Linked DNA regions of Homo sapiens: region 1 is linked to region 2. Evidence: promoter capture Hi-C in human tissues and cell types (Jung and others, 2019). All regions are on one chromosome and are shown on one strand. The core of a region is centred on a gene start or on the middle of the fragment in contact, and the rest is flanking DNA. Distances in the headings are between cores, read along the strand shown. Region 1 has its middle 290 kb from the start of LINC02214. Region 2 holds the start of SEMA6A (semaphorin 6A).

What was found. Contacts are between HindIII fragments. The study calls those that stand out against the background at their distance.
Region 1: a fragment that was not itself captured here is called in contact with the fragment with the promoter of SEMA6A in region 2 in 1 of the 25 tissues and cell types used here (heart right ventricle).

The regions. Positions count from the first base shown.
Region 1 is chr5:117,052,846-117,059,488 of GRCh38, forward strand. No RefSeq gene overlaps it. Among named protein-coding and RNA genes, the nearest start is that of LINC02214, 290 kb to the left of the region's middle. The HindIII fragment of the contact is 9,804 bases long and covers 1-6,643 here.
Region 2 is chr5:116,572,598-116,579,869 of GRCh38, forward strand. It overlaps SEMA6A (semaphorin 6A), which reads right to left and starts at 2,226. Exons shown (of 19, transcript NM_020796.5): 1 at 1,588-2,226. It overlaps SEMA6A-AS2 (SEMA6A antisense RNA 2), which reads left to right and starts at 1,821. Exons shown (of 3, transcript NR_147170.1): 1 at 1,821-1,942. RefSeq lists enhancers at 1-284, 4,922-5,557, 5,558-6,191 and a silencer at 1,982-2,061. The HindIII fragment of the contact is 11,240 bases long and covers 1-7,272 here.

The DNA of each region.
Region 1 (6,643 bases), core at 2,797-5,296, 480 kb after region 2:
GCCCTTTTGTGGCCTACATATGCAAAGGATGCAAAGGTAGACCACTTTAAGGTAGGCACTAAAAGAAACTGATGGGGGAAGCCAGTCGATTAGCATTTGCTTGCCCCATACCCCAGGTTTAGATTTTGAACATAATAGTGCCTGACATCACTGGGCTGCTTTCGCATATCTCACTTTGCTTGAGTTAAGAGTGCCAATTCTAAGAGAATGGTGATCCTAATAAACGTACATTCGGAATCTCTTAAGCCTTGAGCAGAAAACTTTAGGTGGTGATAGGAGGGCAATTGAGTGGCTATAGAAGTGCCACTTGATTACACTCCCATGATCTTTCCTTCCTTCTAGATTTCTCTTATTCATTTCCTACTGCAAGTACCTTATCTGGTTCTCAGTGTTTAATTCTCCCTTTTTACAACTGTTTTTTTCAAAAACAACCACAGCGCCTTCCTTATTTTCTTCCTTAGGGATAAAGTATGCTGAAGTTTTCTAAAGGAACTTTAATTTAATCCAAAAGTATGGACCAACTACTATGTGCAGGTGCCAGATATTTAATAATGAACAAAACATTGTTCCTACCTTGAGGCTAACATTACACTTTTTATGGATTTCCCACTTTGAGAAATCTGTGCATTGAAACATTCAGTCTTATTTTCTTCATGAATTATATCCTGTAAACACACCCAGTACAAATATTTTATTAAAATATTTAATTAATATAAAAACACAAATAACAGCATTAAAGTTTATTGGCATAGTTTGCCAGATTCTCAACCTTTTGTCTGCTTTCCCTCCTTTAAGGCTTCTTAAGGTCTTAAGGCCTTCTTTTCCTCCTTCAAGGTCATCTCTGGACCATGGCTTTCTGACAGTCTTGTAACTTGCTGTCAACTGTGTTAAATAAGCTCTCTATTTCTTGGCTCTAGAGACTCGGATACATGATGGAGGTCTTCTCTAGACATGGTTGACTTCTTTGATGACAACCTAGTAGTCACATAAACTGCCCAGGAATCTCAAAGAAAGGTCATGATGTACCCCTGAAGAACGCCATCTTCTCTTATGTCTATTCATCTCTCTCTTTGGTATTCCATGTTCCTCTACCTCCCTCCAAAATTCTATCTCTGAAGCAGGCCTCTTACAGGTGGAGGGAGATGGGTAGTACATTTATAATTCACCTGTCCACATGGATGTGCACTTCCAGGAATTAGACTCTTTTTCCTCCCTTTTTGTGCATTTTCCTAAAGTTTTCTAAAGGGGAAAACATCCACAGAGTACAACCAGCATACCAGTGATCAAATTTCTCAATATGTGTTTGGTTCTGAGAGTCATAGCAAAAGCAGCCAAACTTTTTACCTTGCTCTTGTTTTGGACTAGGCCACTAAGTGACTCTGAGAAAGTCAAATAACTCCCAAGGGTTTCTGTTTTATAACTTGTTAATTGAGGGGGGTTATAGTTAGAGATTCCTAATGCTAACGTCCCATTCAGCTGTAAAATTCAGTGTCCTTGAAGGCTTTCTCTTCCTGTCTGCATCTCAAAGGCTTTCTCTTCCTGTCTCTGCTTTTCTGGAATTCCTACTTTCTTACCTTTATTGCTTTATAGTCTACAACAGCAGCATCACTCTGGCTTGGCAAATCATTAGAAAATACATTCTTGGGCCCCCTCAGACTTACTGAATCAGAAATCCTGTAGCCAGAAATGTGTGCTAATTCTGATGCACAGTCTGAGGATGACTGTTCTAGGGCTCTGTTGATTTATATGGTATTTTGGGCAGGAGTGAAGTCCAATGTGCTTTGCATCTCCTTTGGTTCAGAAAATACAATGAGTGCTAAAAATCTCCATTAATTTATTAAGTGTATGAGCATGATATTGAATACTACTTTATGTAAATTTATCTAAATTTCAACAGTGACTTCTACCAAGAGCTACATATCATGTGGTGAGAGAAAATAGTTCCTTTTTGGCTCACAAAGTGCCTTTTGTCTCATTCTTTCTCCCTTAGTTGACCTCTTTCTTCTGCAAAACTATTCCCCCATCTTGCATTTTGCTCTGTATGACTTATTGTTTTAATAGCCAATGTCATATTTTATGGAACAAGGAGACAAGGAGACTGAAGATTTGTTTAAATATATCATGATGCAAAGCTCCCCTACCATGGCCAAGTGGAGGACCAGTGTTTACTTTAGTATCTGAGGCCATGATTTAAAGCCTGTTTACATGGCTAATTATTAAAGCGTGATAAACACACTTTTTAAAAGACACGGGGAAAAGTGTATTTTTAAGTCTACCTTCTGTTTCTATTGGGCTACATTTCCAACAGATGGCAGGAGCATCTGGGAAGCAAGCCAGTTAGACTCGCTGATGGACCCTGTACTTACTTAGCAATTGCTCCTGGTCATTTCCTTGAGTCAAGAGTGCGGATGAGAGAGGCATTAGCACTGAGCTTAAACATAAAACCTGAATGGTCTACCAGACTTAAACCGGAAATAAAAGGATCATAAATTTGATAGAACTGGGAAGAATGTTGACTTCCTTGTATTTTAGAAATGATATATGTTGGAAAGAATTAATATGTGTGTGTGTATGTTTAATTATCAAAGGTTATCTCTTTAGTTTAAAGGACCGTAGCCAGCAGTAATTAAGTGTGCCATTCACTGCTGGCAACTACTTAGTTTACGTGCTGTTTTTTATTCCCATTTAGCTGTTTTCTGCTTAAAATACTCTAGAATTAATAAGGACATATATGTGACAGGGAAAACATCAACGTCTTACAATTAGTATCTCATAAAACTATGAATGGCAATATCTGAGAATGCAGTTACAAAGCGTGCAAAATTTATTCATGAATAGATCTGCAAGGAAACTTGGGTAAATACTGCAAAACAGTCACAAGACACTGAATAACTTTGCAATTCTGATGACATTTGTTGGAGACCATGTGTGACATAATGAAGGAATGTTAACATTTTGTAAAATGAGATGGAAGCAGCAGGATAAAAGGAGGAAAATATATTTTCTTTAAAAAGTAAAACAAATTTGACTTTAAAAAGGCAGTGATGAGATGACAATTCTGAAGTATAATAGAAAGAGTATTATTCTCAGCCTCAAATACCCCCACAAGAATTTCCTAATACACAATTGAAATTGTAAGTAAAATCGAGTAACAGAATTGTTGGGAATATCCAGACCATTTCACTTAAAAGCAAGGTTCAGTAAAAAGAAGAAGCTTTCAGGGGCTATTCTCCTCTCTGCTCTTTCACTGCTAGTCAGCATTTGTCTGCACCTGTTATGGGGCCCAGCCATTCTCCCCTCCAGTTCTGCCGTTGGGCTGAGGAATGATTTCACTAGGCTTTGAACAACTGAAAAACATTTTATCTTTTCATTTTGTGCCTCCACTTCCTGGTGTATAAGGTCTTCATTAGTGCTGAATGCTCCACGACTGAAGGAATCCATAGGGAGCCTCTGGCTCAACAAACTGCTGGCTTGATATCAAGCCCTATCCTCTCTTTATGTTCTACTTGTGCCCTCTGCCCATCTCAGGACCCTTGTTCAGATTCTGACCCCCCATTAGCTTGGTTGTCTGAAACGTGGCTTTCTGATGCTTCTTAGCCCAAGAGGGAAGTAGAGGGGGGAAGGAAGAATCTCTTGTGGGGAGGTTCTATTAAGAAGAAGGAAAATTGCATGGTAGCGGATTAATCACTTTATTTCCCTTCTTCATTCTATAAAGACATCTTAGGGTGGAGTGAAAATGCACACTCCCCTAATATGAATATTTTGCGGTCCTTTTGCAAAAACAATCAGCTAGGTCTTTGTCATTCTGAAAAGGCAATCCAGTGAGTTGTGATGCGTGTGAAAACAGGATAGGAGAGTAAATCCTTGGTGTTATTTGTGAGGAATATGGCAACTGGCCCCTTTTTTATCTTCCAAATCAATCTTTTCACTACTAGCAGGCCTGTAATTTTGTAGTTGGCATTTTTTTTCCCCACTGAATAGAAAAAACCATGCAAATACACTCATGCATTGATTAACAACATTTTGGTCAAAGACAGACTACATATGGGATAGTGGTCCCATAAGATTATAACGGAGCTGAAAAATTCTTATTGCCTAATGTTGTAGCCATCACTACATTGAAGCACAATGCATTACTCCAGTGTTTGTGATGATGCTGGTGTAAATAAATGTATTGAACTGTCAGTCCTATAAAAGTATAGGACAGGCAATTGGGTACAGTATATAATATTTGATAATGATAATAAATGACTATGTTGCTGATTTATGTATTTACTATGCTATACTTAATTGCTATCTTAGACTATCTCCTTCTATTTATATATTTTTAAAAGTTAACAGCCTCAGGCAGGTCCTTCAGGAGGCATTCCAGAAGAAGGCTCTGTTATCATAGGAGATGACAGCGTCATGTCATGTTATTGCCCCTGAAAATCTTCCAGTGGGACAAATTCTGGAGGAAGAATGATATTCTGACCTTGACCCTGTGTAGACCTAGGCTAATTTGTATGCTTGTGTCTTAGTTTTTAACAAGAAAGATTAAAAATTACAAATAAAATAAATTAAAACACAGAAAAATAATTATAGACTATGGATATAAAGGAAGAAAATATTTATAGCTGTACAAGGTGTATTTTAAGCTAAGTGTTATTACAAAAGAGTCAAATGTTAAAAAAATCAAAGTTTAGAAAGTAGTTACAATAAGCTAAGGCAACTTTATTATTGAAGAAAATTTAAAAAAAATAAATTTAGTGTAGCATAAGTGTACAGTGTTTATAATAGGTACAGTAATACTAGTACTATAATACTATAATAGTGTACAGTAATGTCCTAGACCAGCACATTCACTCACTACTCACTCACCAATTTACCCAGAGCAACTTCTAGTCCTGCAAGCTACATTCATCATAAGTGCCCTATATAGGTATACCATTTTTTATTTTTATACTGTATTTTTACTGTACCTTTTCAATATTTAAATGCACAATATTTACCTTTTGTGTTACAATTGCCCACAGGATTCAGTGTAGTAACATGCAGTACAGATTTGTAGCTGAGGAGCAATAGGCTGTACCATATATCCTAGGTGTGTAGTAGCCCATACCATCTAGGTTTATGTGAGTACACTCTATGATGTTCACAGGATGAAGAACTCACCTAAGCACATGTTTCTCAGAATGTATTGGCACCATTAAGCATGACTACATTTCTGGGAGATGTAATAATTTACCCTTTGTGCAATACATTAGTATTAGAGGGCTACAACATTAGAATATCTAATCATAAATTTATGCCACTATAGATGAATTTACCAGATCCTTAATCAAAAAAGGATAAGAAAAGAAGGTCTTTGGGTTAAGGGGAGACAAATTCCTACAGAGGAAAAAGGCAAGGGTGCTTAATAGTCGTTGCTATTTATCCATGAGAATGCTTGCACTGCCTAATAATGTCCTTGCCAGCTCCACCAAGGATCCCCCATGGCAAAAAGTGACTGTAGATGTGGGTGTTGAGTGTGTAAAGCCTCTTGAATACTCTGGGCTTGTCTCCAGTGTCTGGAAAGTTGTTTATGAAATGGTAGAGACAAGAACATTATTATTTAATTCTGGATATGTGAACCTAGTACATGCCTTATATTTCATAGGCATTCTGGAAAATCCCCACACTATTCAAAAAGGTGAAAACTATTTCAAATCAATTTATTTTAACAAATAACTTCATTTTCAGATTTGATGAGCCATCTCTGAAGTTAAAGAAATAAATATCCTACATATTTGATACCTTTGAGGAATGAAGTTCATGCTTACCCTTCCATTTTTTTTCTCAGTGGTTCAGTTTACAATATTTTATTTCTGAGTAAAATCCTGGAGTTACTTCCCATATACCTAGTCTCACCTACAAGGAATTACATGTGCCATTCATGACTGCTTGCCTTAGTTGGGGTCTTTGTGCTTTTTTTATGCAATGGTTAAGTTCTAGGTTCACTGCAGTTACTTCCACAGGAGAGGTGATTCATACTTTACTGAAATGCCTGGAACTGATGGCACTGGTAGGGCCTGTAGATCAGACTGTGAAATGCTTATCTGCACTGAGAGCCCTGACTGTTTCCATTACTGTTCTGGTCTCCTATGCTTGGTTAAGTTAGAAATTTCAATATTGTTTCCTGTTGCCTTCTTTCATTTTCATTTATATTACTCTTATTAGCCAATCTATTTGGAAACTAGAATATGTTTTTTGAGGCTTCTCTTTAGAATGTGCCAGAATTCTTACACATGATATATTCCAACACATTGAAATCATGAAAACAAATATTCCAGGATAGGAAAGCCATTTTCAAGCCCAAGACCAGCAACATAGGGAAATCAAAAAGCAGTAAACTCAACAGGATAGCAGTGAAGCAAAGGAACTTGGAAGGACCTTTGTTGGCCTGTAGTAATAGGATTTGACTGTTAATGATATTCTTGAGAGGGGAAATTGTCATGCCACTTCTGTGGGGCAGTTGCTTTTAGAAAGCACGTTGTTTTGTTTATTAGAACCACAGAATTTTAAATGTGGAAAGTAATTTTGTTTTATTTAGTCCAACCTTCCTTTAGGAGAGTATTTTGGTTTGGGGTTCCCCTGGAAGCAGAGCCCGAGGCAAAGGCTTCTG
Region 2 (7,272 bases), core at 976-3,475:
AGCCACTGAGCCCCGGCCTGTGTCCACACGCACCTTCCCCACAGCCTCTGTCCACAGTGGCCGCACCTGCCTCCGGGGTCCTGCTTCCCCATTCATCCCTTCCCCGACTTGTCGAGCAAGTACCGCGGGCCAGGAGGTTCCACTCTCCAAAGGGCCGGGATCTAGCTCCTAGCTGCATCCCGAGCTGTCCGCATGATTCCCTCCAGGTCCGGCTTCCCTCAGACTGCACATGCTGAGCCCCAGTCCGGTCGTGCCTGCCGCCCCTGGCTTTCAGGGAAACTTTCCAGGAGCGCCTGGTCTAGTGACCCCGCCGCTGTAAAGTGGGAGGAGGCGCTGGGCGGAGGGGCGGCGAGGGAGCGGGAAAAACAGCGGAATTCTGTTTCCTTTCCCGACGTCCACAAGCCCGGGACCGCTCCCTGGCTCCCCCCGTGCCGCTCGGGTCTTGCGAGGAGGGAGGAGACCTCAGGATCCTGTTTTGCACCATCTCCCACAGCGAGGAGCTGAGCAAAACGCGGAGAATCGGGACAAGAGACACTTCCCGCCCCAGAAGGATCAGGCAGGGTGGGTGGGCACTGCCCGGCTTACTCTCCAGCGCCCCATTGCCCCCATGGTAGCGCCCTAGGACACAGTGAGGAGTCGGAACAGAGCCCTAGTCTGGGTTTCAAACCCAGGGCCATCTTCTGCCAGGTCTCTCACCCTTCCCCCTCCTGGGTCATCTTTCCAGAGCGAGACCGCGCTGATCTGGGAGGAGGGCGTACCGTGCGCCAGCCCGGTGCAAAGGGCTCGGTGCTTCAGGAGGGACGCAGCCGCGACGGGCTATATCCTTGCCGCTCGGGTTGGGAGCTGCGGCGGGGGACAGGACCCATGGCGGGGGCGCCGCGTCACCCGAACGGCTGCTCCCGGACACTTATTCGAGCAAACAAAGCCCGGAACCTCTGGTGGCAGCGGCCACAGGAGCCAGGATCTCACCGAGAGACAGGGCGCGCGGGTGCCTAGAGCCATTACAAGTTTCTTGCACTCCACGGAGCCCAGCCCAGACCCCACACTGACAACAAAAGATTCTCTCCGCTTCCACACCGTCTCCGCGGAACCCCTTCTCCCACCTGGCACTGGACGAAAACAGCGCTGTTATACCCAACCCCCTCCAGCCCTCGAGGGCAGAACCCCTTCCCCTGCCTTCGACACACCGGGCCAGGGAGCTTCCGAGAATCCCACCATTTAGGGCCCGCTCTGCTCCCTGCTGGGCACGCGGGAGGATGAGCCTTGGGTCTCGCACACACACCCCCAGGAGGAACAGCCATACGCGCCGTCGCGGCCCGGGGCGGCGCCGGGCGTGTGCGCAACGCGGGTGGGAAAGCTCTCGACGTGGAGCCGGACGCACTCTGGGGCGCAGGGCAGAGAGGAAAGGCAGGCAGGGCTCACGGCTGCTCCCCCAGGACCGGGCAAGGCTCGGGAAACAGAGACACAAGACAAAATAAAACGCAGGCACCACAAAGCCGACAGCACGCGCTAGCCACGGCCCCGGGACCCTCAGGCTGGAGTCCAGCTGCCCGGGAGGTGGGGCGCGCCCGGGCGCCCGGGGCGTACCTTTTCGGTGCATCGACGGACAGGCGGCCGGGGCTCGGAGCGAACTGGTACAGCGTGTATCCCATTTAGTAATCCATTATCGAGGGGATCTCTCCGGGCCGCGGGCTGCGCTCTCTCCTTCGCAAGCCTTTGTCATTCCTACATGTGTGCTTGTCTCTTTGGGGGAAATAGTCGCGGCGACTACTTTCTGGGATGCAAACGCGATGTGTTCATCTCCAATGACGAGCGGAGAAGGGGAGAGGAAAAAAGAAGCCAAAAAAAAAAAGAAGAAAAAGAAAAAGAAAACCAACAAGGAAGAGGGTAAATGTTCAAGAAACTCTTCTCCAAATCCAAATTCCACTTGGATTCCACTTCGGTGAGTCCCCTTGGTGGTGTCTGCGCCGATTAACAAGTCATTTCAGGGCGGGGGGCGGGGTGGGGGCTGGGGCAGGGGTGCAAGGCTCTGGCCCGGCTCTGCGGCCGGCAGCGCGGTGCCGCGGGTGTGGTGATGCTGGCCGCTGCTACACGCTGCTAAGCGGGCATCGCGGGCGACCGGCACCGCGGAGGAGCGCCGCTGCTGGGTTCCGAGCGCCTGGGCAGCCGAGTGCGCGGGGAGCGGAGTTGGCTGCAGCCTCACCCCGTGCCGCTCACTACTCCTCTGTCACCGGAGAGGCCGCCGCTCCCGGGCGGAGCCAAGTCCCGGACTGGATTGCGCAGATCGGACTCTCCTTCCGCAACTCCGCCTACTTTGGCTGGCGTCTCCTCCGACCCAAAGGAGAGCTGTGGTGTATGTGAGTGCGAGTGAGCGAGGCAGAGGCGGAGAAACTACGCGGTGTGGCTGCAGGTGGAGCCTTGGACCAACTGGCCAGCGCCGCTTCCTTCCACCAGGATTCCTGGCCCCACCGCGCGCTAGGCGGAGGCTCAGCGGGGGCGACTCTGGCTGGAGCCCAGCCCTCACCTCCCCCACCCCCACATCTGCTCTAGCTAGGAAAAAAAAAAAGAAAAAAAAAATCCCGGACAGCATTGCTGAGTCCTGCCAAATCAGAAAAATAAATAAAAATAGACGTAGTGCAGGAGCGAGTTACAAGAAAGGTTTTGTTCATCGATTTTCTTAAATGGAAAAGTTTTAAAGGATGAGGGTAAGTGAACGGCGAGCTTTTCTGATTCTGATTACTGTTATCAAGAGGTAGATTCCAGAAGCGATGGACGCTCTACGTAGTTAGATGAATTGGATAGAAGCCGGTGCGGTTAAAAATACACTTGGAAGATAAGAACACAGCTATTAATTACGCACATACACACGTTAATAAAGCATGTGAAGTAAGCAAATAAACTACAGTGCAGAGAATGGCGTTTTTAACGACGGCGATCTATTTTAAAACTTAATGAAGTTCACATTTTGTGGACTGGTCTTAGAAATAAGTAAACTTCAGAAATAACACGCATACAATTCCAGTGAGAACCCAAAAGGTTTATGGAAGAAGAAAATCGCAACCACTTCCAAGGCGCTATTGTTATGATCACATGAAGAATGGCAGGCACAGCCTTCTTTCACCACTTGAACTTTCAATAGCTACAAAGTCTTGCAGTTACAGGCTTGTGCCAACTCGTCGGGCCACACCACGTTCCCCTCCCCCTGCCGCTGCGCCCCGAAATCAACTGCGCGCCGCGGCTCTTGCTCCCCAAGGGGGCTTCGCAGATGGTACGGATCCTAGTCGCAACCTTTAAACAAAGTAACATCGGGCGGCCCAGCAGTTCTCGGAGAGATATTTACTAGTCATGGAGTTGGCTGAGAAAAGCAAGTGCGGAGATCGGGGTCTCAGTCCCACTTAGGCCGAGTTTCTTTATATTGGAAACTGTACCTGTTCCCTAATTGGGACTAAGACCACTAATAAGTCCACGTTCCCTCTTTGGTCGCTTCTCTAAGTACAGACATCTGCTTAAGAGGCTTCACGAAGAATAAATGCACATGGGTCAACACCCATTCCCCCCGCACCACTACCACCACCTGGAAAAGGTAGGGAGAATGGTAGGAAAAAAAGAAAAAATCAGTACCCCTGCTGTTCTCCAGAGCTGTCAGCAGGGGCCGCTATCCCCACCTTTCTCGGGCAAAGGCCTCTATAGACCTGGGGTAGTGGGGGGCGCGGCCCTAGGTGCGCGCGCAGCCCCCGCGGCTTCAAGAGCCAGCCTCGGGAGGGGGTTGGGGAGTGTGGGGCGGTGGGTAGGATTGCGCTTTCCCGCGGGTTGGGTGGGGGCCGGCTCCAGGACGTCTCCTCAGAATCCCGCGGGGTTAGGAGAAGGATCTGGCGGCCAAGACGGCTGGATCCCCGGCTGCGCTATTTAACACCCAGATTTTGGCTGATGACTGCAGGGTCAGTGTGAGCTGGTCCCCTGGCTCGTCCGTGCGCCCCAGGCGCGGTACTGCAGCCCCTTCGAAGCTCCGGACCCTTCGGCCTCCGGGGTTTTTTGTCCCGCGCTCCACCCAACCGGGGTCGCCGAGGCTCCTTCTTCGCTCCCCGCCGCCGATTTACATGCTAATTGTGTCTGGGAAAAGTTCTTAAATTGGCAGAATTAGGCAGAGCAAACGAATTGTTTCACAGGCCGAACTAAATTAATTTCGGGTTTAGCTCCTTCCCTTAGAGAAACAAACAATTAAGTTGTTTTATTTGCTTTATGGATATATTGGAAATGCCCCACAACGAGTTTCAGGATATTGTTTAAAGGGACATTATATTCAATATTAATACTTGCATGTTTAATTTGTAGTAACGCTGAGCCAAGAAGCGAGCGATTAAATTTACCTAATTTAAAATTATAGAATACGAGAGTTAAAGAATTGGAGTCTACTTTTCACAGTGAAGAAATACCACCCAGAATCTTCCTGGCAATTACTAGATCCTAGTCTCACCATCCAAGTAGGAGCCCTTCCTTCTGACCACGTGATATTACATTTCCACCTGCCAGAAAAGATGCTCCCGGAGCTGGAAGAAAAGCCAGCTATTGTCAGGCTCCCGAAACCCCCAGGGGAGCACCTGTGGGGAAGCCAGGCTATGAAACCTCATGATGTCATTTCCCCATAAGTGCGCCTCAGACTCACTTCCAGAAGCCTGCAGTAAGTTTTCAGTAAAACCACTGCCCCTTCAAAGCCTTTGAAGTCTGCAATTTATACCCTGTCCCTTCAGGAAAAGAAAGCCAAAGAGTTAAAGAATCACAGAGTGATGAGAAGGTGACTTCAGTGGTTTTTTTTAAAGTGACGTAAAATGGAGTGTTTGAGGCCCTGGTCTCTGGAGGCCATCTGCGGTTAATGTAACTTAGCTGGTGATCTTGGGCAAGTCACTTATCTCTGTGAAGTCCCAGTGGATTCACCTGTAAATGGGGATTCTTATTCTACTCACTTCCCGAGGAGCTCGTGGATTACATTAGATGATCTTCGTAAATTCGGAGTCTAAGGCTGACACTGCTTTATAAAGATTAAGTGTCACATTGTCATCCTTGCCATCCTCCACATCAGTCCTACCATCACATTTTACAGGAGTCACATGGAAGCACAGCGGACAGAAGTGGCTTGACCTGTGTCAGCGATTGGGTCAGGGCTGGGAGCTACCTGTAACAACTCCCCCTCCCCTTCTTCTTCTTTTTTTTTTTTTCAATTTTTGAGACGGAGTCTTGCTCTGTTGCCCAGGCTGGAGTGCAGTGGCGCAATCTCAGCTCACTGCAAGCTCCGCTTCCCGGGTTCACGCCATTCTCTCTCCTCAGCCTCCCGAGTAGCTGGGACCACAGGTGCCTGCCACCACGCCTGGCTAATTTTTTTGTATTTTTAGTAGAGATGGGGTTTCACCGTGTTAGCCAGGATGGTCTCGATGTCCTGACCTCGTGATCCGCCCGCCTCAGCCTCCCAAAGTGCTGGGATTACAGGCGTGAGCCACCGCGCCCAGCCACCCCCTGCCCTTGTTAACTACATGACAGTTCCCGCTTTCCTCAGATCACCTGGAAAAGTGTGGCGGAAGATTAAAATAAAGCAGAAAGATAAACTCAGGTTCTCTGCAAAGACCACATCTAGCTGTTTGATCAGAATCTCTGCTTTGAGACAAAAAGGAGTAATGAACTTGGGAGAAGAAGGGGCTGCTGCTACTCACAGTTCCTTGAGGGTTCATGGGGGCACACTTGGGGAGCACAGTTTGTACATTCAGGCCATTATAATTTATAATCAAGAAATCTATCTGTACCCTCAGCCCCTTCTCCAAAGTTCCCTCCACCTCTTTGCCTTAAGTCAGTGGTTTTAAAATCCACTTGCACATTAGATGACCAGGGGAGCTCTTCAGTGATGCAAATCCCCAAGCTCAAGATTCTCATTCATCAGTAAGGACTGGGACCTCGGCATGGGTAGGTTTTAAAACTCCATAGATGATTCTCATTTGCAGCCAGGGATGAGAACCACTGCCACAATAAATCCTGGCTGTATTCTAGACCAATTACTTTTCCCTAGCCTTTTTCTTGTGGGGGCTGTTTCTTCTTCTTGTCCGTTTATTCCTCTTCACAAAGAAAGGTCCGTATCCTTGCTCCTCATGCTGCTTTCAGGCCATTTCTCCTCCTCTAAAAACCTCTGGCTGACTTTGGTAGCTAAACTCTACAAATACATTTGTGGTCTCATTTTATCCGATTCTTCAAAGACTTATTGTCCTCCTATGTGTCCCTCCACCTGTCATGACTCATGGTAGTGTTAACATCCATATAACCACTGACCCTCTGGCTTTTCCATTTCTTGCCTTCCTCATCTATGCTGTCTTTCTACTCCCCTCCTCCACCTACTCCAGGCTTCATTCTGGGCCTTATTATCAAAAATGCCCCATCTTCCAAATCACTAATTCTGACATCCTGCTTTCCAATCACTTCTTCTCCTTCAATCTTCCTTGCTCATGCACCCCCCTGCATTCACTGATTTCTTGAGGACCTCCAGATTTTGAGTTTTGCTTCTCTCTCGATCACCTATTCCCTCCTTATTTCATTCCTCTCTATGTCTAGCATAGCTTCATAGTATCAGTCCCTCTCTCTTGCAAATACTTTCAATTCTGTTGCTCCTCTATCTTTGGTCAACATCTATCTGACTAAAAGCTAGTTCTGAAGTATGTAAACATCAGCCGTCTCTGCTTCTGAACTGGGCAGCTGAAGCCTGCTGGAAAAAAAAATGTAGATAGATTGTTATCAACCTCAATCTCATCCAAAGCACCGCCTTATCTCAGTTCGTTTCTAACTTTCTCCCCGTAATCAGATATCTCACACTTCATACCTCGTACTTCCCTGAAAAAAACGCAGTCCATCAGAAGGGAACATTTTTGCTTCTGTACTCATTATTTTTTCTTTCTTTCTTTCTTTCTTTCTCTCTTTACTTTCTTTTCTTTCCTTTCTTTTTCTTTTCCTTTCTTTCTTTTCTTTTCTTTTCTTTTCCTTCTCTTCTCTTTTCTTTTCTTTCTAGATGGAGTTTAACTCTTGTTGCCCAGGCTGGAGTGCAATGGCACAATCTTGGCTCACTGCAACCTCTGCCTCCTGGTTCAAGCGATTCTCCTGCCTCAGCCTCCCAAGTAGCTGGGATTGCAGGCACCTGCCACCATGCCCGGCTAATTTTTGTATTTTTAGTAGAGACGGGGTTTCACCACTTTGGCCAGGCTGGTCTCGAACTCCTGACTGCAGGTGATCCACTCGTCTTGA